Linked DNA regions of Homo sapiens: all the other regions are linked to region 3. Evidence: promoter capture Hi-C in 16 types of primary human blood cells and fetal thymus (Javierre and others, 2016). All regions are on one chromosome and are shown on one strand. Each heading gives the region's core, a stretch centred on a gene start or on the middle of the fragment in contact. The rest is flanking DNA. Distances are from core to core; before and after follow the strand shown.

The links. Contacts are between HindIII fragments. The CHiCAGO score rates a contact against its expected background, and 5 or more counts as called.
Region 1: a contact is called between a fragment that was not itself captured here and the fragment with the promoter of NEK9 in region 3, in 10 of 17 cell types (monocytes, neutrophils, M0 macrophages and 7 more). The highest score is 23.0, in monocytes.
Region 2: a fragment that was not itself captured here is called in contact with the fragment with the promoter of NEK9 in region 3 in 17 of 17 cell types (activated CD4 T cells, neutrophils, M2 macrophages and 14 more); the score reaches 20.1 in activated CD4 T cells.
Region 4: a contact is called between a fragment that was not itself captured here and the fragment with the promoter of NEK9 in region 3, in 1 of 17 cell types (activated CD4 T cells). The highest score is 10.5, in activated CD4 T cells.
Region 5: a contact is called between a fragment that was not itself captured here and the fragment with the promoter of NEK9 in region 3, in 1 of 17 cell types (monocytes). The highest score is 8.2, in monocytes.
Region 6: a fragment that was not itself captured here is called in contact with the fragment with the promoter of NEK9 in region 3 in 1 of 17 cell types (activated CD4 T cells); the score reaches 6.1 in activated CD4 T cells.
Region 7: a contact is called between a fragment that was not itself captured here and the fragment with the promoter of NEK9 in region 3, in 15 of 17 cell types (activated CD4 T cells, neutrophils, naive CD4 T cells and 12 more). The highest score is 12.7, in activated CD4 T cells.

Annotation. Positions count from the first base shown.
Region 1 is chr14:75,437,513-75,440,946 of GRCh38, reverse strand. It overlaps JDP2 (Jun dimerization protein 2), which reads right to left. Exons shown (of 4, transcript NM_001135048.2): 2 at 2,826-3,049. The coding sequence starts at 3,026. Among named protein-coding and RNA genes, the nearest start is that of JDP2, 11 kb to the right of the region's middle. RefSeq lists a silencer at 202-251 and enhancers at 1-287, 442-651, 1,491-1,993, 3,001-3,434. The HindIII fragment of the contact is 3,402 bases long and covers 10-3,411 here.
Region 2 is chr14:75,555,536-75,559,122 of GRCh38, reverse strand. It overlaps LOC107984653 (a long non-coding RNA gene), which reads right to left and starts at 952. Exons shown (of 2, transcript XR_001750830.1): 1 at 917-952. The HindIII fragment of the contact is 4,794 bases long and covers 1-3,587 here.
Region 3 is chr14:75,125,148-75,128,436 of GRCh38, reverse strand. It overlaps NEK9 (NIMA related kinase 9), which reads left to right and starts at 1,389. Exons shown (of 22, transcript NM_033116.6): 1 at 1,389-1,734. The coding sequence starts at 1,516. RefSeq lists enhancers at 1,336-1,465, 1,476-1,525. The HindIII fragment of the contact is 1,961 bases long and covers 292-2,252 here.
Region 4 is chr14:75,635,308-75,638,873 of GRCh38, reverse strand. The region is part of intron 5 of FLVCR2 (FLVCR choline and putative heme transporter 2); the gene reads right to left. Among named protein-coding and RNA genes, the nearest start is that of ERG28, 24 kb to the left of the region's middle. The HindIII fragment of the contact is 538 bases long and covers 1,445-1,982 here.
Region 5 is chr14:75,617,213-75,620,479 of GRCh38, reverse strand. The region is part of intron 1 of FLVCR2 (FLVCR choline and putative heme transporter 2); the gene reads right to left. Among named protein-coding and RNA genes, the nearest start is that of FLVCR2-AS1, 39 kb to the right of the region's middle. The HindIII fragment of the contact is 2,327 bases long and covers 644-2,970 here.
Region 6 is chr14:75,591,470-75,595,130 of GRCh38, reverse strand. The region is part of intron 1 of FLVCR2 (FLVCR choline and putative heme transporter 2); the gene reads right to left. Among named protein-coding and RNA genes, the nearest start is that of FLVCR2-AS1, 14 kb to the right of the region's middle. The HindIII fragment of the contact is 2,694 bases long and covers 869-3,562 here.
Region 7 is chr14:75,535,804-75,538,987 of GRCh38, reverse strand. All of the region lies in intron 2 of BATF (basic leucine zipper ATF-like transcription factor), which reads right to left. Among named protein-coding and RNA genes, the nearest start is that of BATF, 15 kb to the right of the region's middle. RefSeq lists a silencer at 134-348. The HindIII fragment of the contact is 5,692 bases long and covers 1-3,184 here.

The DNA.
Region 1 (3,434 bases), core at 461-2,960, 310 kb before region 3:
GTTAAAGCTTGGGCTCAAGGCAGACTGCCTGAGCTCATTTCCCAGCCAGTGACCTTGGACCTCCCTCAGCCTTGTTGACCTCATCTGTAATGTGGGTATAACAACAGCAACAACACTAGTTACTTCAGAGGGTACTTGTGCAGGGTAAACAAGGTACTTCACAAAGAGACCTAGTACCGTGCCTAGGGCTTAGCTCAGCACAAGTGAGACCCGGCTGTAACGGCAGCCATCGTCCACCACACCAGGCCCCAGCGCTATCACTTCCCAGCAGTGTGACCCTGAGTGACTGAACCCCCTCCCTAGACCTCAAACTCTTCTCTACTATGGGGGTAACCTGGACTCCAGGACTGAATAAGGAATGAATGAAGTCATGCATGTTAAGCACTTTGTGCAGGTCCTGGGACATATTAAATGCTTAATGAGCTAGTATCTGATTATTATTAAAGAAACTTTTACTAGTCTAAAATGCCAATATGAAAATCCGCTCAAGGCAGTTTGCCATATGCAAATAGATCTTCAGACCATAGATTCTTCAGCTGCAAGTTTCTTTCCCCACCCCGCTTTAGGTTTTAGTTACTCCAAGAATTAGCTCTTCCCGCCCCTGGGGTCTGACCTAGGAAGCATTTGGAGGTCGGTTCGCAGTGCAGGGCTGGCATCTCTCTACATCGGTACAATCTCGCAGCTCCATCTGCCTCTTCGCCCCCACAACACTGCAGTCTGACAGCGAGGGAGAGGACATGCAAATATGCCCTAAAAACGGCTTGTTATTTTTGCGGCCTGGATGGTGCACGTCTGTGGGTGCCTGTGAGGACAGCACGTCACTGTCGGGTACAGGGCAGATGCCACCAATTTGGGGGTGGCTGTAAAATGTAAAAATACCCAACCCAAATAAAAGTGGCTTTTCCAAAAATAAAAAATAAAAAAAGGGAAGAGTTCCTCCAGTGCCTTTTGCAGAGGAGAGAGGTGTTAACTCAGCCCCCCAGGCGAATCCCAGCTTGACGACCTCTGCCCAAGACACCTGGCTCTTCATCAACCCCATGCGCAGCCTTAGTGCCCCCATGAAACTGCTCAGCTACTGGCTCTAAATGGCAATTTTACTGTGGAATGATCCAGAAACAGATGCTCTCAAGTTACAGACCTGGGAAGGTGAGGAGCAGAGGGCCAAAAGACAAGGACCCTCCATCGTGAAGACAGAACACTATATAAGCCGGGATGTGCCCCAACGACACATTGGCTTACAAGATCAATTCAGAAGAATGTAATCACCATCAACTCACAGCTTGTAATCCACAGTCTTTAGTAGGCACCTATGATGGACCTTATCCACGTGTCTTGAGCACAAATGGCTAACAGGGACCAGGCAGTAGAGGTAAATGAAGGCAGATGGTAGTAGCAAAAGCAAAACCAACAATGTAAGTAGGATCACGAATAACAGGGAGGTGCAGGGGCCTGTGGCCCACTGGAAAGAGGAAACAGTGAAGTGCCTCTGTCCACCCCACTTAGCCATTACCATGCCAGAACAGGGTAGTGTATGATGAGATCTTACAATTTTTTAATCAAAATTTTCAAATGAAATGGGGGTTCGCGTTTCTTTTAAAACACTGAGCCGGCCAAACAAAATACATCTGAGAGCCAGGTCCAGCCTGCAAATGGCCAGTTTGCCACCACGGCCAGTTTGCCACCACAGCCAAGCCCCCAGCAGTCCTCTGCAGTTTTTAGGTACCTATCAGGAGAAGGGGAGCTGAGAGATAGTTGCCTAATATCCCCAGCTCTCCCCTACGGGTACCCAGACACCCTTCTCCACGAAGAAAGTCCTCTCTCCAGCACTTCCAGCACTTCAGCCCTCCGAGCTCCCCCCAGGCTCATCTTTGCCTGTGAACTCTCCCTCCAAGCAGAGCTACCATTCCCAGATGCTCAGCTGCTTCCTGCGCCCTCCCGATCCCAGCCTCTTCCCCACCTCCCACCACAGGCTCCTCCTTTCCAGGGGGCAGCTACTCTGGCAGGCCTCTGAAGAAACGGCGCTGCTGGGAACCTTGCTGGGACAGGCCTTCAGAGAAACGGCCAGCCCTGGGCAAGTCGCCGGGGGCATGCCCTGCACAGATCCTCAGCCATGCCGGGGACTGCTGCTGCTCACCAGTGCCCCGAGAAAAAGGGCTCATGAGAGCTGCAGGTGCAAGGGACCTGAGGAGGAATTCCTTGCAAATGCCACATGTGGGTGCTCCACGTGTGGGTCCCGGGCAAACGCCATCTAAGGCGGACACTGCTGGCTGACCGAGGCCATGCCTAGCTCTGGCAGCTGCTTGGGAAGGGAGGCCACGCTACTCTTCCTCCAAGTTCCCTGGTTCAGCTGCAGAAAGGGCCAAGAGGGGTGGAGGTCACGATGTGACTAATGATAACAATTTTAAAAGATAACCTAATATTGGCATTCTCTTGTCTACTTTTCAAAACATGTACACATTCCCATTCCCATTATCTCCCCAATCCTCCCACCACCCCAGAGAGATGGCCAAGATATTACTATTCATTACTGTCATTATTATCACTCTTCCACCGCCCCCCAGAGAACCAGAGACAGGTTAAACATCCTCCCCTGGCCCAGTGCTTCTCAAGTGTTAATACGTCCACGAATCCCTGGGGGATCTTGTTAAGATGCAGATTCTGATACAGAAGGCCTGGGGCGAGGCCTGGGATTCCACATTTCTGATAACCCCAGGGTGGTACGGATGATACTGGTCCTCAGACCACACTTTGAACAGCAAGGTTAAGGTCCCATGGTGGGTTTAAGGCCAGACCTGGAATCTGCCAGGGGTAAAAGGCTCGCTCACCTCACTTTTCACGGGCTGGGGCCTCTTGCCCAGTTTCACCTCCAGGAAGTGCAAGGGTGCAATCATGGCCCCGAGGTTGCGGATGTCAGCGTATTTCAGCTCCTCCACAGTCAGGGCCGAGCTGGGGAGCCCGGTCAGGGGGCCAAGCCCTGGCAGGGAGCCTGTGGTCACCGAAGGGTCCGGGATCTGCCCAGGCATCATAGCAGGAGGAGTGGCAGGCCAGCCTGGAGTGGGCAGGAAAAGAGCAGGACAGTCAGCCAGGTTGGGGGCTCCAGGAGGGCTCAAGTCCCTCGTCTTGCCAGGACTGTGGCTTCTTTCACCAATGTTCCCCTGAATCCCTTTCCCACCCAGCTGCTCTTCCTGCCGTAAAGTCCTTCCTGTTATAGAGGAAAAGTTGCTCAATTAACTCACACCAAGGTCACCCTTGGCACTGCCAGAAGTGTCTGCCTTTTTTATTTTGAAGGCAATGCTTGACCCAATCATAGGCAACATGTATTCAGCCTTTGGTATGTGCCAGGCCCCATGGTAATCCTGCAGTCCCATTAGGCTGGATCAGAGGTCATTACACAGAGGAAGTAGCCAAGCTTAGAATGATAATTCGCTTAAGGT
Region 2 (3,587 bases), core at 344-2,843, 430 kb before region 3:
TCACTGTAATCAGGTGCATCTCAGCTCTAGGTCACAATTCCGTGACATCTTGCCTTCAGCCCCAGGTTTTAGACCCAGACAGAACTAGATCCCCATTATAGTAGTGCAGTGACCTTCCTGAGGCCACCAGATCATCCCAGTCAGTCCTGCTTCCTGGGCATTTAGGGCTCTTATGGACTTGTTCCCCCACCCCCTGGGGATAAACAATGAGACACAAACCTTTGAGGGAGCCATAGGTAATTTAGTCACAGTCCAAACTCAAAATTCTCAACCTGAAGTAGACAAGGCTTGAGAATATATGAATGAATGAATTATTTATATTTATGATTAATTAATTCATTTATCAAACCTATAAATATCACATATCTGCTCTGCTGGGCACTAGGAATATAGCAGTAAACAAGACACAGATAGTCTCTGCCCTCACTCATGGGTTAGTGAATGGCCTATCTGGACAGCCATTTAACTGTCCACCATGAGTCACCACTGGGGGTTTTGGGCACGATGTAAGTAGATATCTGGTCTCTGTCATCTTCTCTCAATGATTGCTGTGGTTTAAATGTCTCCTCCAAAACTCGTGTTGAAATTTAATTGCCATTGTAACAGAGTTGAGAAGCGGGGCCTTTAAGAAGTGATTCGGTCATGAGGACAGAGCCCTCATGGATTAATGGGTCCCTCGATTAATGTCATTGTCACAGAAGCGGGTTTATCTTTGGAGTGGGTTCCCAATAAAAAAGACGAGTTTGGCTCACTTCCCTTTCTGTCTCATGTGCTTGCTTCCACCTTCCACCCTTCTGCCATGGGATAACACTTGCCAGATGCTGGCGCCATGCTCTTGGATTTCCCAGCCTCCAGAACTATGAGAAATAATTTTTTTTCCCTACAAATTACCCAAGCTGGGCATGGTGATTCACACCTGTAATCCCAGCAACTCAGGAGGCTGAGGCAGGAGGATCACTTGAGGTTAGGAGTTCAACACTAGCCTGGGCAATGTAGTGAAACTTCATCTCTAAAAAAAAAAAAAAAAATTTAATTAGCTGGGTGTGGTGGCATGTGTAGTCCCAGTTACTTGGAAGGCTGAGGAAGGAGGATCCCTTGAGCCCAGGAGTTCGAGGCTGCAGTGAGTTATAATCATGCCACTGCACTCCAGGCTGGGTGACAAAGTGAAACTCTCTCTCTCTGCTCCCTGAATTTCAGCACAGTGCCTCTCAGCCCTCCCAGCTGTGGCTCAAGCAGCCTGGGTGCTCCAGAAAGAATAGGTGGTAAACCTTGATGGCAAACATTTGGTGTTAAGTCTGCAAGGATGCAAAATGCAAGGGCTATAGAAGCATGGCTTCCTCTGCTTAGATTTCAAAGGATGTCATGGATCACCTGGAAGCTCAAGTAGAAATCTGCTTCAGGGGAACGGTCACCTCAGAGAGTCCCCACTAGGGCAATCCCAAGTGAAAATGTGGGGTTGGAGCCACTTCGGTTTGAATGTGCCCTCCAAAACTCATACTGAAATTTAATTGCCATTGAAACAGTGTTGAGAGGCAGGACCTTTAAGAGGTGATTAGCTCATGAGGGCTCCACTCTCATGAATAGATTAACGCCATTATCACAGGAATGAGTTGGTTGTTGCAGGAGTGGGTTCCTGATAAAAAGGTGGAGTTTGGTCTGCTCCCCTCTCTGTCTCATGTGCTCACTTCTGCCTTCCACCCTTCTGCCATGGGATGACCCTGGCCAGATACTGGTGCCATGCTCTTGGACTGGCCAGCCTCCAGAGTTGTGAGAAATAAATTTCATTTCTTTGTAAATTACTGAGTCTGTGGTATTCAATTACAGCAGTACGTAGGTTGTGTTCGTGTTTGTAGGGTGTAGAGGCATGAACCACCAGCAAGGCAGGCCAACCAGCTTCCATTACCATGGAAGCAGGATTTGGAGTAATAGAAAATAGGCGATGAGGGTGGACTGGGGCTAATCTATTTCTACAGGGCCTTGTGCAGGATTCCAACTTGCTTTTACTTTGATCCTGGTCTTTCCCTCTGTCTAATAGGTGACAGCTAGACACAGACTAAAAGCTAGATAACACTGTGACTGAGGAGACACAGTTCCCTGCCCTCGCCTCTTCCAGCCCCACCTGGGACTCTATCCCTAATCTCTACCATCTTCACAAGAATACATGCCTTCCCTTGATTCCTGCTCTTAAAATATCTGATTGATTCTTACTTTTTATATGTTAACTGAATATTTATTTTGTCATTTGTATTCCATCGTCAGAATAATAATTGGCTTGGATTTTACATTCCTAGAAGGCAGGCACTGTGTTCCATCCATCCATCCATTTATTCATTCAGCCAATGAATATTTATTGAATTTCTACTCTGTGGTAGGCTCTTTGCTACTGTGCAAGGAGCTGAGAATACAATGGTGAGCAAAACATTGGCAATCCCTGACATTATAGAATGGATGGTCCAGTCACAGAGACAAATGTTAACCAAATAACCACATAGATAAATGTAAATTTTCAGTCTGTGTTAATGGGTATAAAGGAAGGGCATGAGGTGCTATGAAACTATTTGAAATTGCAGTTCTGATCTAGCCTGGGAATCAAGCAAAATTTCCCCAAGCTGGTATTTGACAAAAGGTAGGAATGAATGAGCTAGAAGGGTAAGAGCATTTCAGTTAGGGCTGAGCAGAATGAGCAAGGCTCTTGGGCTGGAGGGAGCACGCAGAGATTTGGGGAAGGGACAGATGCCAGTGCAGAGGAAAAGAGGGTGATATGAAGTGAGCTGGGGGACAGAGGGTGCAAGGTCTCCAGCGCCCCCACTAAGAATTGAGTCTTCATCATATAATCACCCCGAGTAACTCATAAACCCCAATCACACTGTGCACCAGTAGTCAATGGATAACATTTTATGTGAATAATGCTGACTTCACTTAGAGAAGATGTGCTAATGGTGGTTGGGGTGGAGAGGATTGACGTGGTGCTAATGTGACTCGCAATCTAATTTCACAGCTCCCATGGCCCAGATATGAAGAGCTGATCCCTAGGAATGGGTACCTATGTGTATGGCTGCAAGTTGAAAGATGATTGGCAAAGTTTAGTATCAGTATCTTCACATGCCACAAGATAGAGAAAGAAGATAAGATGCTTTTGGCTGGGTGCAGTGACTCACACCTGCAATCCCAGCACTTTGGGAGGCCAAGGCAGGTGGATCACTTGAGTCCAGGAGTTCAAGACAAGACTGAGCAACATGGTGAAACCCTATCTCTATTGAAAACACACACACACACACACACACACACACACACAAAATTAGCCAGGCATGGTGGCACTCACTGGTAGTCCCAGCTATTCAGGAGGTTGAGGTGGTAGGATTGCTTGAGCCCAGGAGTTTGAGGCTGCAGTGAGCCATGCACTTTAGCTTGGGTGACAGAACAAGACCATGTCTCAAAAAAAAAAAAAAAAAAAGATGCTCTTAACTTTCCACACATGGATGCTGCTATAGCTTGGATGTTTACCCCACCAAACCTCATGTTGAAATTTGATCCCAAACTCAGAGGTGGGATGCTAATGGGAGGAGTTTTGATCATGGGGTAGACCC
Region 3 (3,289 bases), core at 140-2,639:
AGGCACATGGCTTTCTCTTAGCCCCATCACATCCTGCTTTTTCAGATTGCTGGGTTCAACTTCCCAGCTCCCTCTTACTAGGTCTGTCACATTAAGCAGGTTACTTAGGTACCTCTGTTTCTGTAAAATGGGAATGTTAGGATAATACATAATACATAATACATAGGATAATACATAATAATGTGAGATAATACGTAAAAAACCTTTAGCATAGTACCCAGAACATAACACTCAATAAATGTTAGCTGTTATGTCTGTGATGTAGACCACATTCTCACAACAAAACAAGCTTGGAGATGAGAAGTTGCCCAAGGTCACATAATTGCCCAAGGTCACATAACTGATGGAACACCTATTGTTCACCGTATTGCTGTTTTCCTACTTGACGGTAGGGAGAACATTATTGCAGATTTCCTGTTCCCAAACAGTGTGTGGCACCAAGTGCTCAAAGAATGTTTCATGATATCATATGGTCAAATATCTGGAAAAACACATAGAATAAATTGAATCTGGAAAAAGAGACGGGGGAGAAGGAAAGTGTCAGGAGAGTTGACTTAAAATATTTTTGGAGTTGTGTAGAAGAGGGAGGGACTTAGGATGGCCCTGGGAGAAAGAACTCGGCCCAGGGACCGAGATGACCGGAGGCAGACATTTAGGCTGTCTATATTATTATTATTTTTTTTTTTTTTGAGACAAAGTCTCGCTCTGTTATCCAGGCTGGAGTGTAGTGCGCGATCTCGGCTCGCTGCAACCTCCTCCTTCCGGGTTCAAGTGATTCACCTGCCTCAGCCTCTGGAGTAGCTGGGATTACAGGTGCCTGCCACCACGCCTGGCTAATTTTTGTATTTTATAGAGACGGGGTTTCACCAGTTGGTCAGGCTGGTCTCAAACGCCTGACCTCAGGTGATCCGCCCGCCTCGGCTTCCTAACATGCTGAGATTACAGGCGTGAGCCACCTTGCCCGGCCATATTATCTTTACTATACTATCTCTCTAAAAAAGAATGCTGTCCAACGTTGGAATGGGGAAGAAGGTGTACACTGGGAATGCTTCCCCAATCACCCTCTTGTCACAGACCTGACGTCAAGATGAGACTGGACGACCTCTGGGCCTCCAAGTTGTATGAGTCCGGACCGGGGAGGCAGAGAAGGGTCAATAGACCCGAGAGGCCGTACCGTCAGTGATGCCCTTGTTCCCGTGGGAGCCCTTCGGTTCCACGCGGTTCCCACCACGCGCCCGCCAACCCTAGCCCGAGGCCTCACTTTGCAGGCCTTCCCCGAAAGCGGGAAGCCTTGGCCGCTAGACTAGCCAAGAGGGTAAGCAAAGGCGGAGGAAACTCAGCCAGGCCGGAAACACAGAGAACTGTTTCCGGGTCGGGGGGCAGGAGCCACCATCGAGCTTCGCGGGGTTGCTGGGCTGACGGATCCGCGGGCCGGCATCTGAAGCGAGCGGGACGCAGCGCGGCCAGGGCCTCCGGGCATACGCAGGCTGGTCCCCAAGGCCCGCGGCCGCCGCCATGTCGGTGCTGGGCGAGTACGAGCGACACTGCGATTCCATCAACTCGGACTTTGGGAGCGAGTCCGGGGGTTGCGGGGACTCGAGTCCGGGGCCTAGCGCCAGTCAGGGGCCGCGAGCCGGCGGCGGCGCGGCGGAGCAGGAGGAACTGCACTACATCCCCATCCGCGTCCTGGGCCGCGGCGCCTTCGGGGAAGCCACGCTGTACCGCCGCACCGAGGTAGCGGCCCTCGGCGCCGGCCGCCCTGTCTGGCGCTGTCGGGTCGCCCCGAGTCCCTCCTTCTCGGCCCCGCTTTCCCAGCGTCGTGAGCTTAGTGCTTTAGGCGCCCACGGGGTATATGTCTTAGGGTCTTCACCACTCTTCCCACTCACCGGCACTAGAAATTGGCTAGATCATTGGTTTGACTAGTCATTTTTGATTGTCCTAAGTCACCTAACCGTCTCTTGAGCTTTAGTTTCCCCATCTGTAAAATGGGCTTACTGATAATACCTTGAAATCATCTTTTTCTTTTTTTTTTAAGATTATCTTGAGAATCAAACGAAGGCTCTGTTCTGTAAATTAAAGTGGTATACGAATGTGAGGTATTGCCAAAACTTCCTTCCTCTCATGCTGTATATATAGTTCTCCAAGGTCGGGGTGAGGAGGAGGGGCATAGCTTCAAAATCCCCACACCCGTGGCAACTCCGTTATTTTTGTCATTATCTTTAAGTTCAGCAGTGATCACTCAGTTGGAAGCTTTTCTTGAAGCTCATTGGGAAGATCTTTGTGTGTTGGTTCTTTATCAGTGTTTATCTTGCAGGGTTTATGCATGGGAAATACTTTGTTGGTATATTCTAAGCCATTAGTTCTTAATTTGGGGGGCACAAGGACCCCTTTGATAACCTAAGCAAAGTAATCTTGCCCCCTCCATCAACACATTTGCACATATGCACATCCTTTGGAGAGATCCATGGATCACGGAATCCCAAGTTAATATATACTAGTGTAAAACCCTGCAGTGATTATTCTACTTCCAAAAACTAACGATACACTAGATTTGATCATAAAATCTTACTTTAGGGTAAACATTTAATGAGAACTTGCTGGGGTTGCTGAAGGTGATTCATCCGTCGGAAATCCATCTGCAGTTCTGGTGTGTGTTCCAAGCCAGCATACTTTTAAGGCTGAAAGATGGAGAAGGAGAGAAGTGGTTGCAAGAGAATATTTTTAAGTGTTCTTTTTTATCCTGATGCCACGTTAATGTATGATGTTAGAGTTAGTTATTCTTAGTAGTCTGTTTTCTTTTTTGCACTCAAAATGAGAAAGAGGAGATAAGGATTGTTATTTCTATATTTTAGTTAGAGAAACTAAAACAGTATACTTAAGTGACTTGCTCACTTAAGTTACAAGTAAATCTTGGACTAGAACTAAAGTCTCACATCTTGCCCATTGCCTTTTTATTATTATCCTGTTGAACTTGATTACTGGGTTGGTTTTGAGTTAAATTTGATTACACTTCCCAAAAATTGCATAGCGTTGTCCATATCACCAAATATTTATTAGATCTGTGAATTTACAAAAGTTCAGAAGCACTCTTTTTCTCTAGAAGCTTATATTTCAGTAGGAAAATAAGTTGACCATTGTTAGTAAACAAATAGCATTAAGTTGCATATGTAGAGATATGAAAAGAATGAACAAATATCATTTCAGTGTATGGGGTCTAAAAATTAAAGACATGGTTACAGTAAAAGCTTCATCAGAGTCTTTTCAAAAACACTGTAAAGGCTTGGCAGAG
Region 4 (3,566 bases), core at 464-2,963, 510 kb before region 3:
ACAGATGATGATCACACAAAAAAATTATTTAATTACATCATGATCAATGCTACAAAGGGTAAGTAAGACTAGTAAAGTATGAAGCCATCTTACGATATCTTTGTTCCCTTTCTGTAGAACCCACTCAACAATATCAATCTGCCCCTTGACTTGTCATGTCCTAGCCACAGACAAGAAGGGCAAAGCCCTTTCTCCTTCTCCCATCCCTCACCAGAAAAAAGAAAAAACAGGACAAACATCAGCCATGATGAGGTGGCGGTGACATTCAGGACTACCCCAGAAGCTGTCCAATTCTGCTTGTCTGCTTTATCCCAAGACCCATGACAATGCTGGGCAATGTGCTCTGTCACCTACAAGTTCTTCCTGTCCCTACTTGAACAGACCAACAGACCCAGCAAAGCTTTTTCTTTTCTTTTTTTTCTTTTGTCCTTTTTTTGAGATGGAGTTTCGCTCTTGTCGCACAGGCTGGGGTGCAGTGGCGTGATCTCAGCTCACTGCAACCTCTGCCTCCCGGGTTCAAGCGATTCTTCTGCCTCAGCCTCCCAAGTAGCTGAGATTACAGGCATGCGCCACCATACGTGGCTAATTTTTTGTATTTCTAGTAGAGATGGGGTTTCGCCATGTTGGCCAGGCTGGTCTCAAACTCCTGACCTCAGGTGATCTGCCCGCCTTGGCCTCCCAAAGTGTTCTAATTAGAGGTGTGAGCCACTGCGCCTGGCCCAGCAAAGCTTTTTCTGTTGAGTCTGAACTACTCCACTCCAGAGAGCAGGAACTAAGAGAGAATATTCTCTCAGCCTGAACTGAGTGCTTGACTTCCAAAGCCAATGTGAGAAACCTTCTCTATCTTCGCCCACTCCCTGTTACATTTCCCTGTGTCGATCCCCTCAGGAGTACCATCAGCAAGTCTTGGTTTCTATTTCAGTCTCACCCCCTCCTGTGCCCCTCCAGCAGTTCTCTTCCCATGTTGCCCACCTAGGACTCTGATGCAGCCCCGACTCCTGCAATTCGACCTGCATTCTTCTCCCTGCACTACCTAAGGCAGGGCATAGGCACTGCACATCCCTCTGCCCCCCTACCATGAACATCAGGACTCAGATGATGAAAGCTTTAAAGCTTTTCTTTTCTTTCTTTTTTTTTTTTTTTTTGAGATGGAGTCTTGCTCTGTCACCCAGGCTGGAGTGCAGTGGCACGATCTCTGCTCACTGCAAGCTCCGCCTCCCAGGTTCACCATTCTCCTGCCTCAGCCTCCCAAGCAGCTGGGACTACAGGGGCCCGCCACCACGCCTGGCTAATGTTTTTTGTAGTTTGTTTAGTAGAGACAGGGTTTCACTGTGTTAGCCAGGGTGGTCTCGATCTCCTGACCTCATGATCTGCCCGCCTCCGCCTCCCAAAGTGCTGGGATTACAGGCGTGAGCCACCGCACCTGGCCAAAATCTTTAAAGCTTTTCTTTACACATCACCCCTGAAGCCAGAATCATGGTGGAGGCACCAAATGGCACGCTACGGTTGTGTCAAACGAAACCCTCCATCTCTTGAGTGCCAGATTCTGTGAAGCACTTCACATGCATTTATTATTTCAATTCAACCTTTACAAAAATCCTGTAAGAAATATCTGATGATTTCTCATTTTACCAATGAAGAAACTGAAGCTCAGGCCACTCAAGTTACTTGTCCAAAGTCACCAGCTGAATAAATGCAGAGCTGAGATGTGAACTCAAAGCTGGATTTGAAACCTGTGTCCCTTCTGCTACTGCATGCGGGAATAACGATGCACTATGTGGTTGCATCTTTGGAAAAGCTCAAGGTCAGAGTCTCCAAAGGATGCTGCTCCCACCTGGTGCTTCAAAGCAGCTGCTAAGGGTAGAGGAGCTTCCTCCTCCCTTCACGCTCCTCCCTCACACTCTTCCTACCAACTCTGCTGAAAGCAACGTCATGGACGCCAGTCTTGCCCGATGATCCCACAAGCTCACCAGGATGAAGCTTTAACCATAGCTTCATCCTAAACCACTGACCAGTTTAGAAAAACTATTTGTAGTCCCAGTCTGAGATAAACAGACCTCACCACCCAATTTCCAACCTCCAAACAAAACTAGACAAATCTGGGAGCCTTAGAGTGACGAGGACTGGCTCCGAAATGATGGGATCACAGAGCTCTCATCCCACTGGGAGTTGCCTTTTCTCTGCCTGGGTAGTGGCACAGGGAGAAAAATATCTTGTGCTGACCACTGGATTTAGACATCACGTGATGCTAGGAACTGGTGACATCTAGGTTCTGAAGAGGGCTGAGAAAGTGTTCTTCCCAGTCCTCTCATTATCTTTTCTAATTCATCTGAATCATCCGGCTGCCCATGTCCCAGCCCAGCCAGCATTCCCATCCCTCCCTCCTCCTGCCGCAGAGCAAGCCCCGGAAAAAGGGTCACTGCTATTCAGTGGTTTGGGGATGGCCAGTCCTCACTGCTCTTGTGTCTGGCTGAAGCAAGCAACTAACAGATGGCAGCGATGAGATGGCAGCCAAGCCCCGCCAGCAGTAATTAAGCCGAGCCAGGCTCCTCGTCGCCACCTCCCTAGGGATGGTCTCAATTGGCCTTTGATTAGGGCAGCCAGAATGAGACCTGGTCTGACCAGGGCCTCACAGAAGCGGGTTTGTGTGGCAGAGAACAGGTCTGCCACTGTCTGTTGCCTGCAGACACTGGGAACTTTGGAGGCCTTGACAGAGCAGCCGGGGACACTGCTCTGCCCCGGTACAGTACAGCCCAACAGCTGCCCCGCCAGCCAGTGCTAACTGAGTACCCAGTGAACGGGGAGCACTGGAAAATCACAAGGGAAGGATGTTGGGCTGCTGTTCGCCAGAGGATTTTCTCCAAGGCCAGCTGCTGAATGGAGGCACCCAGGCTGCTTTCTACAAATGCAGATTCTTCTGCTGATTTGGCATCCATGGGGCGGGTAGTGGCCTGGCATTCACTAAAACCTTTTAATTTTTTTTTAACCCATGTGCACACCGATAAAACATTTTCTTTTCTTTTTTTTCTTGAGCCAGGCTGGAGTGCAGTGGCGTGAACCCAGTTCACAGCAACCTCCACCTCCTGGGTCAAGCGATCCTTCTACCTCAGCCTCCCAAATAGCTGGGACTTCAGGTGTGTGCCACTATGCCTAGCTAATTTTTGTATTTTTTGTAGAGATGGGGTTTCACCATGTTGCCCAGGCTGGTTTTGAGCTCCTAGACTCAAGCAATCCTCCTGCCTCGGCCTCCCAAAGTGCTGGGATTACAGATGTGAGTCACTGCGCCCAGCCTGATAAAACCTTTTAAAATAGCTCCAGGCTCTTAGAAATGCACTGGGCATTCAGGTCCAAAGTAAGTTATAATATTTACCAACAAGGTATAAATAATTGCACAATAATATACACTGCAAACTGGAGAAAGCTCAGAGTACCTTGGTCAACCCCATGGGGTCCACAAGGTGCCATGAGAACAGGAGAGTGAAATCACCTCCTCCTCATCTCCACTCTTTGGGGTTTCCACAAATTTTCCACCGCTGAGATTTTTTTTCCCCATTCATTTTCATTTC
Region 5 (3,267 bases), core at 558-3,057, 490 kb before region 3:
TACAAACCCAATAATTACAGGAGAAAACAAAGGCCAAGTGAGGTTAATTGAGCTCTGTGACTTGTTGAGGGTCACCCAGAGTTCTAGCAGAGTGGAGGTGAGAAAGCAGATCTCCTGGCTTCTCTGGCCAGTGCATCCCAGGCTAAGAGCCTGGAGAAAGGCCCAGGCAGGCAGGCTTCTGCAGAACAGAGGCCTCTTTTGTGTCCTTGGAGCTTTAGCTGATCCTTGGTCATACTGGTTTGTCAGAGTCAGGCTTCCTACTGCTCATCTTCAAGACTTTAATTGAAGGTAGAAACCAGCCACAAGCAGAGGGGCAAATGCAACCTTCTTCATAGCTGGGAAGCTGGGCCCACTCCAGCTCATATATGGCCTTCTAAGCACTTTGGAGTTGGAGGTCTGGAAGTTAAGTAGAATCTCCCAGGGTCCCATTTGCAAGAGTGAGGAAAGATACAGACATCATCTGAGGCTCTGTGACTCTTTCATTTCCAAAGGAAAATTAAAGCTCTGAGGTCCCAACACAGGATATCTTAATTCTCAGTTAATCTTCTGCCCCATTAAAGAAATCCTCCCAGCTGGTGCTACACTGTATGCCCTCCTCCTCTGGGGCAGCTGGACTCTGTTCATTCCATCTATACACCAAGCTTGAGTGAGTGCTGTTCCACCCCAACTCCGGCTTTTAAGCCTTCTCCAGGCAGCAGGTTGGATGGGTGGGCCTTAGCAGTGGCCTACAGTAACCCCAGCTGGGCAGCAACACTGTCTCATGGTAACCTTTCTCAAGGAGGAAATTGGCTATGGAGGTACATTTATGCCCAGTGTGGAAAACCAAAACATCAGGATTAGACTGTAAGCTGCTTCCTCTTTTGTTTTTTCAATACATATTTTTTTCCTGCTTCTTAAGAGCAGTGTTTAGGGAGAGTCTATTTCTAGTTCCTAGTATATAGGTCTGTTCCATAGTCATGATGGATGGATGGATGGATGGATGGATGGATGGATGGATGGATGAGCAGATGAACGTTGGTGGAAAATCCTGTCTACACAAAGCTAGGAATGACACATCTCTCTATTAAGGTCCAGGTTCTTTCTACATTGTACTCACAGTGGTAAGAAAAAAAAATGTGTATGGGAAAGTAAGGAGAGGGTAGGATACCCTAGTGTATCTTGAGCATCTACTATGCGCCGAATATGTAATACACTTTATCTTTTCATTTAACCCCAATAACTTTATTTATTTTTAATTAATTATTATTATTTTCTGAGACGGGGTCTCACTCTGTCACCAGGACGGAGTGCAGTGGCATGATCTCAGTTCACTGCAACCTCTGCCGCCTCCCAGGTTCAAGTGATTCTCCTACCTCAGCCTCCCAAGTAGCTGGGATTACAGGTGCCCACCAACATGCCTGGCTAATTTTTGTATTTTTAGTAGAGACAGGGTTTCCCCATGTTGGCCAGGTTGGTCTCAAACTCCTGACCTCAAGTGATCTGCCCGCCTCGGCCTCCCAAAGCGCTGGGATTACAGGCGTGAGCCACTGCACCCAGCCTATCGCCAATAACTTTGTAACAACAAAAAAGAGAGAGGGCAAAAAAAAAAAAAAAACCCTGCTGCTCAGCACCCTGCCCAGGGTCACACAGGCAGCTAGCAGAGGAGCTGGGCTCCTAAGCCAGTTCTGTCTGATGTCAGAACCCAGGCTCACTTTGCTGCCTTCCATGAAATGTTGGTGTGATACTAGTCAACACGGAAGTCTACATTTTCACCCATTTGGGTTGTCATTCATTTGACAGGAAACCTCTGGGGTACAAATCAGAGACCTGGGGCCTGAATCAGTGAAACATTAATTTAAAATGTGGGAGAACGGGGCACATGGAGCATTTGGCATCTTTCCTGGAGACCCACCTTGGGAAGGCAAATGAATGAATGTCACTGCTAACTGGTTTTGAGTTGACTTACATCCCTGCACTTGTTCTAGTTTTATCATTCTCAACAAAACACAAAGTCATGGGCAAAATACAAAATTCATGGTCAAACCAAGTCATAGTCTTAGCTCTTCTGGAACATACTTTTCAAAATTAGGCTCTCTTCATTTTTACCCATCCCATAGCAGTATTTCCCAAACTTGTCCCATAACAAACGTCACCAGTACCAACCCCGTTTTTATCCCTCAGGTCTGAGGTGGGTCCTAGGTACCTGTATTTTCATATGCAGGCATCCCCATCTTCATCAAGGGAGTTGGGGAGATACTGGCCTCTGAAAAAGTATGACTCATGCCTCCTAATAGCTTCCATGCAGCTCTGCTCCTAGCTATTTTCCATGATAGCCAGCCATCTTTGGAAAACGTCCTGCTTAACACCCTGCAGTGACTTCTCCTTGCTTTAAATTAGAGGTAAAAATCCTAAGCACAGCCCACAAGGTTCTGCACATGGGCTCTGTCTAATGGTCTGACCCTTGTCACCAGCTTGTTCCTCAGGACTTTGCTACACTGAGCTCCTTTCTGTCTTTCAAGTGACCATGGGGAGTTTGCACCAGCTCCTCTACCTGGACTAGAATCTCTCTCTGCCCTGTTTCAGCTAGTCAATGCAGATATCCTTCAGGTCTGAGTGCAAATCCTGCTTCCTCAGGAAGGTTGCTCTAATCCCTTACATGAGGTTGGGTTCCTGCATAGGTAATTTTATATTTGTATGATCATTTAATTAACATCTGTCTTCCCAACCAGATTATAAGCTCCATGAGGGCAGGGCTCACACTGATCTCTGCAGGCTGGCACATGATAATACTCATCATAGTAAAATGTATGAGCTTTATGCAGAGTATCTCAAGCCTCACAACAACCCCAGAAAGAGGGGTCTAACATCGTCCCAATTTTACAGATGATGAAGCTGAGATGCAGGAAGGCTAACTGACTTGCTCAAGGTCACACAGCTATAGGTAGCAAAGCTAGAGTTTTCAACATACAGTATTTCAAAGTTAGGTAAGCTTTACAACTATAGTTTACTTCATCCCAATAGAGGGTGTTTAACAAAAAATGTGATGAATGAAGGGATGGAGAGGCAGCCTGGGATATTTAATTTTCATTTTCTATTTTATTTTCACCCTTTCTGCAAACTCAAAGGTGACCTCTAAATGCTACTGTAATGTCAGTAATCAGGAACGTTTCCAGAGCAAATGTCACAGTTAAAAACATGTCTATGTCGTCTGAGGGCCCTAGGTGACAGGGAGAAGCCATACTTTGAATGATGTCTCACTTGTGATTCTAGCTCATGCATTTGGCAGAG
Region 6 (3,661 bases), core at 966-3,465, 470 kb before region 3:
CATAATCCTACATATAACTACAGTTTGAATGTGTCCCCCAGAATCTATGGGTTAAAGACTCAATCCCCAGTGTAACAGTGTTGAGAGCTAAGGTCTTTAAGAGGTGATAATGTGGCTAGGTATGGTGGCTCATGCTTGTAAACCCAGCACTTTGGGAGGCTGAGGCGGGAGGAACTCTTGAGCCCAGAAGTTCAAGACCAGCCTGCACAACATAGCAAGACCCCATCTCTATGAAAAATAAAAAATTAGCCAGGTGTGGTAGTGTGTGCCTATGGTCCCAGCTACTCTGGAGCCTGAGGCAGGGGATCACTCGAGCCCAGGAGGTTGGGGCTGAGGTGAGCTGTGTTCATGCTACTGTACTCCAAGCTGGTGACAGAGTGAGACCTTGTCTCTTAAAAAAAAAAAAAAAGTGATAATGTCATTATTACAGGAGTGGACTCATTATTATGAGGGTGGGTTTGTTATAAAAGTCAGTTTGTCCTCTCTTATTCTTTCTGTCACCCATGTGACGGCTCCTGCCATGTTATGATGCAGCAAGAAGGCCCTCACCAGATGCAGCCCCTCAATCATGGGTTTCCCAGCCTCCAGAACCATAAGCCAAATTAATTTCTGTTCAATGCGAATTACCCAGTCTGTGGTATTCTGTGATAGTAGCATAAAACTGACTAAGACAGAAAATTGATACCATGAAGTAGTCTGATGCCATAACAAATACCTGAAAATGTGGAAGTGGTTTTTGAACTGGAAATGGGTAGAAGGTGGAAGAATTTGGAGGATCAGGAGAGAAAAGTCTGCCATGAATGGAGTATTAAGGGGAATTCTGGAGAGGGCTCAGATGAAAAAAGAACTTTAAGAAGAGCCTAAAGCTTCTCAGGGATTACTTAGGTGGTCCTAATCAGAATGTTGGTAGAAATATAGACAGTTATAGACAGTAAAGACCATTCTGATGAGGTGTCAGATGGAAATGAGGAACAAGGTATTGGAAACTGGAGTAAAAGCCATTCTTGTTATCTACTTGCAAAGAACTTGGCAGAATTCTGTCAGTGTCTTAGGAATTTGTGGAAGACAGAACTTAAGAGTGATGAACTAGGATATCTGGTGAAAGAAATTTCTAAGCAAAATATTGAAGGAGCTGTATTGCTACTTTGAAGCACATATAGTAAAACATGAGAGGAGAGAAATGACTAAAAGGTGGAATTAGTAATGAAAAAGAAAGCAGAGCAGAAAGATTTGGGAAATCTGAAGGCTGGCCATGTAGACTGAAAAAGTGTCCGTAGGAGAAAAACCAAGGGCGTGGCCAAGAAATCATTTGCTAAAAAAATTAGTAGACAGAAGGCAACCAGGCCTATTCATCAAGACAATGAGAGAAAAACCCTGAAGACATTTCAGAGATTGTCTAAGCAGGCTGGGGCCTTGAGGACAAGTGCTATGGTTCGGATATGATCTGAGTTTGTCCCCTCTTAAACTTATGTTGAAATTTTATCCCCAATGGGGTGGTGTTGGGAGGTGAGGCTTAGTGGGAGGCATTTGGATCATGGGGGAGGATCCTCCACCAGCTGATCTCATGGAAGCAGATTCTCACTCTCGCAAGACTAGATTAGTTCCTGCAGAAATGGGTGAGTTCCCATGATAGTGGGTTGTTTTAAAGCCAAGAGATCCCTTGGGTTTGCCTCTTTGCACGTGTCCACTTGCCCTTTAACCTTCTCTGTCATGTTATAATGTAGCATGAGAGCTACAACCCCCTGCAGGCTGCAGGCACGCCCTTGAATGTCCCAGCCTACAGAACAGTGAGGTAAATACACCTTTTCTTTATAAATGACCCAGTTTCAGGTATTCTGTTATAACAACACAAAATGATCTAAGACAGACAATTTGTACCAAGGAGTGGGGTTGTGCCATAAAGATACCTAAAAATGCAGAAGCAGCTTTGGAACTGGGTAACGGGCAGAAGTTGGAGGAGTTTGAAGAAATAGGCTAGAAAACACCTGAATTGCTGTGAACAGGGCATTAAGAGTAATTTTGATGAGGGCTCAGAAAAAGACAAAAAGATGAGGGAACGTTTGGAACTTCTCAGAGATTGGTTAGATGGTTATGACCAAAATGCTGATAGAAATATGGACAGTAAAGGCCATTCTGATGAAGGAAAGTAGCGTTTATTTGGAAACTAGAACAAAGGTCACCCATGTTATGCCACAGCAAAGAACTTGGCTGCATTGTGTCCATGCCTTAGGGCTTTATAAAATACCAAACTTAAAAATGATAACCTAGGGCATCTGGCAGGAGAAATTTCTTTTTTTTTTTCTTTTTAAAGGTGGGGTTTCACCATGTTGGCCAGGCTAGTCTCGAACTCCTGACCTCAGGTGATCCGCCCACCTCGGCCTCCCAAAGTGCTGTGATTACAGGCATGAGCCACCATGCCCGGCCTAGGCAGAAAAATTTCTAAGCAGCAAAATGCTCAAGACACAGTGTGGTTACTTTGACAGCTTAAACACAGCAAAGGAGTGACCTAAAGGTGAAATGTGTAAGAAGCAGAGCATTAAAATTTAGAAAATTTGCAGCCTGGCCAAGTGGTAGAGAATGAAAGAACATTTTCAGAAGAGGAATCTAAGGGTGCAGCCAAGGGACCTTTTGCTAAAGAGATTAGTTCTGACAGAAGGGAGCCAGGTACTAACAGAACAATGGAAAAAAGGCCCTGAAAGTATTTCAAAAGTCTAAGGCCATTCCTCCTGTCACAGACCCAGAGGCCTAGGAGGACAGAATGGTGGGATACCACTGCCCTGAGCCACCTCAGGATGCTTCTCCTAGCTGCTCTGGCCAGAGCAGCCATGGCCCAATAGCCCCAGGTACAGCTTGGGCCACTGCTCTGGAGAGTGCAAGCTGTGGGTCTTGGTGGCATCCATGTCCACATGGTACTATTGTTCATGCATGTGGAATGCAAGAGTGGTGGGCATGGCAGCTTCCACCTAGATTTCAGATGATGTATCAGCAAGCCTGGGAGCAGGCCAGGCACAGTGGCTCATGCTTGAAATCCCAACTCTTTAGGAGGATGAGGTGGGTGGATCACTTGAGTTCAGGAGTTCAAGAACAGCCTGGGCAAAATGGCAAGACCTCATCTCTACAAAACAAAAACAAAAACAAAAAAGAAACAAAATTAACCAGGTGCAGTGGTGCATGCCTGTAGTCCCAGCTACTTGGGAGGCTGAGGCTGGAAGATTGATTGAGCCTCAGAGGTCAAGGTACAGTGAGCTGTGATCACACCACTGCACTCCAGCCTGGGTGACAGAGTAAGACCCTTTGTCAAAAAAAAAAAAAAAAAAAAAAAAAGGAATGAAGAGAAAAAGAGAGCCTGGGAGCCTAGGCAGAAACCTGCCATGTGGGGGAGCCACCACAGACAGCCTCTGCTAAGACAATGCCAAGCAGAAATGTGAGGCCACAGCAGAGGACTCTTCTGCAAAGAGTCTTCACTAGGACAATGCCTAGTGGAGCCACAAGAGTAGGGCCACCGCAAGGACCCCAAAATGCTAAAGTCACTGGCAGCATGTGACCTCAGCCTGGCTAAGCTTCAGGCATTTGATTCCAACCTGTGAGTACAGCCATGTGGGCTATGTCCAGCAAAGCCATGTGATTCCAACCTGTGAGTACAGCCATGTGGGCTATGTCC
Region 7 (3,184 bases), core at 606-3,105, 410 kb before region 3:
AATGTTCAAAACCAAACAACAAAACAAATAATAACTGCCATCAAAGCAAGGGTTTGAATAGTTTGTTTGTTTGTTTGTTTGTTTTTTGAGACCGTGTCTCGCTCTGTCGCCCAGGCTGGAGTGCAGTGGCACGATCTCGGCTCATTGCAAGCTCCGCCTCCCGGGTTCATGCCATTCTCCTGCCTCAGCCTCCCTAGTAGCTGGGACTACGGGCACCCGCCACCATGCCCGGCTAATTTTTTGTATTTTTAGTAGAGACATGGTTTCACCGTGTTAGCCAGGATGGTCTCGATCTCCTGACCTCGTGATCCACCCGCCTCGGGCTCCCAAAGTGTTGGGATTACAGGCGTGAGCCACCGCACCTGGCCGTTTGTTTTGTTTTAAGCCATCAGGCCACTGTATGTGACAGAGTATCTGTGTACTTACCCACACAATTGCCCCACACTCACTCCACACATTCTGCTCACTCCACACATTCTACTCACTCCACATATTCAGGTACAGACCTGATAGGCTGCAAATGTACTGCTTCTGATTCTCAACCCTGGCTGTGCACACTGCCAGCACCCGGAGAGCCTTAAACAGTCTGGATTCCTGGATGCCAGACCCCCAGAGGTTCCAATTTAATTGTTCTGGAGTGGTTGCAGGCATCAAGACTTTAAAAATGCTTCCTAAGTGAGCCAAATGGGCAAAAAATCATGTTCATAGTGGATTCCTTTTAATAATAACATAAGGCCAGGTGCAGTTGCTGTAATCCTAGCACTTTGGGAGGCTTCTTTGGCAGGAGGGTCATTTGAGCCCGGAAGTTTGAGACCAGCCTGGGCAACATAGTGATACCCAATCTTTACAAAAAATTTAAAAGTTAACCAGGCATAGTGGCACACACCTGTAGTCCCAGCTATTTGGGAGGCCAAGGTGGGAGGATCATTTGTGCCTGGGAGGTGGAGGCTGCAGTCAGCCATGATCGCACCACTGCACTCCAGCCTGGGAAAAGAGTGAAACCTTATCTCAAAATAATAAAAATATAACATAACTATATAGTGTTTGATTTTATTAAATTTGTTTGTTAACAAACAAATTAAATTTGTGAGACTTGCCCAGTTGTGAAAGGCCAAGCCCCTGAAACTACTGATATCCTTAAAGAGTTTATATTTTTACATATTTTCATTTTATTAAATATGTATTTTATTTTATCATTTATAGTATAATATTAAAAAATTTAAAGAGTTGGGAGACTATTTCTAGTTAAAAAAATTTCTAAAACAAAATGTCCATTTAAGCACACTACTATTATATTCTTAAATTGGTGGAAACAATTCTAAATAGTCCAGCACAGTTCATTCATATAATGGAAAGGCAAGAGCTCAGGGATCTATTCGTGTTTCATTAATTATAACTTTAACCGTTTCGTTTCCTTACCATTTACATTGTTGAGCTCTGTGAGGGCAGGAGCTATTATTGTCTTCACTGTTTTGTTCTCAGTGACAAGGACAGTGCCTGCCATAGAGTAAGTGTTCGATCAAATCACGTTGCTTGACTGCCAACTTATAATCTGGAATAATTTTCCAAAATCTGAGATGTGCCTATGAAGAAGGGTCAGCTGAGTAAATCTGTGATGTCCATGAGAATTCCTAGAGAGTGATTAACCACCACTCAAACACTTTAATAGCTTCTACTTTGTAAATCTGGGATACTTCCAAATGAATCCAAGAGATTCATTTTTTCAAAAGGCCTAGGTCAAACCTCTGTTTATTCCCCAAACTGAACCAACAGCGTGGGAGTGGCAGAATTACAACCACTTTAAGAACTTCGTCGTGCCATTTCCCTAGTTCAAATTTGACCCTCTCTCCATTCATACCCAACAAAGGAGACTTGCCTAGTTGTGAAAGGCCAAGCCCCTGAAACTACTGATATCCTTAAAGAGTTTATAAGCAACCAGAAAGAAGAACGTGTGTGTTCATGTAGGATAATATATCTGATTGATTTCTAGGAAAAGGGCAGGCTGTCTGCATTAAACAAAGGAACAGTGTAAAAAAAAAATGACAATATTGCTTTGTTCTTACATTTGCCCTCTCAATTAAACGGTCAAACAGCCTAGTGAGGTGCTATTGCTTCTCAACTTATGATCAGAGTTTAGGTTCAGAGAAATCCCCCAGGCAGGGTTTGAATTAGTTGGGTCCCCACCACATGCCCCATCCAGTTCCTGCTCCTAGCAGCACAATTGCCTTTATTTTATTTTATTTTATTTTATTTTATTTTATTTTAAAGACAGGATCTTGCCCTGTTGCCCAGGCTGGAGTGCAGTGGTGCTATCACAACTCACTGCAACCTCGACCTCTTGGACTTAAGCAAATCTCCCGCCTCAGCCTCCCAAGTAGGTGGGACCATAGGTGCATGCCTGGATATTTAAAAAAAATTTTTTTTTGTAGAGATGGGGTTTCACTGTGTTGCTCAGGCTGGTCTCGAACTCCTGGCCTCAAATGATCCAACCAACTCGGCCTCCCAAAGTGCTGGGATTACAGGTGTGAGCCACTGTGCTCAGCCCTACAATTGCCATTATTACTGAGTTCCTCCTCACTCCCTTATGGTCTTGAACTTGGTCTCCACCTTACCAAGCACCTTTCTGACCTTTGCCTGGCCTCGCAGCTTGGCCTCAAGGCTCTCTAGGCTGAGATCACCCTCTCCCCAGATCTTTCCAGTCTCCTCTTTGATTCACCTTTGATCTCAAATTCCAGGGCCTCAGGAAGGCCTCCCCTGATCGCTGCCCCAATCCCGTCCCTTAGACACTTTCCACATTGCATGATTTCATCTTCTTTGAAGCACTTTACATGTCATGTGATTAGTGTGTTTATTTGTTTTCCAGCCTGACTTCCAACTGACTGTAAGGTTCGTGAAATCAGAGACTCTGTCTGTCCTGTCCCTGCAATATTCTCAGTGCCTAGAACGAACTGTTCCTGGCTGATAAATATTTGTTGAGTAGATGAATCACTTCCGCTGATCTCAGCTCTAGTACTGATAATATGGCCTTTGCTTTATAATTTTCTGTGTCATCCTACTCTCTTAATGATAAGACATATTCTTATGCCAGCTGAGTACCCTTTTTTAGTTACAGGGTCCTCAGTTGCAGGAAATCACATTTTGGTCATAGGAATCCAGTCCCCTCTACTTGACTCTGAACTTTATC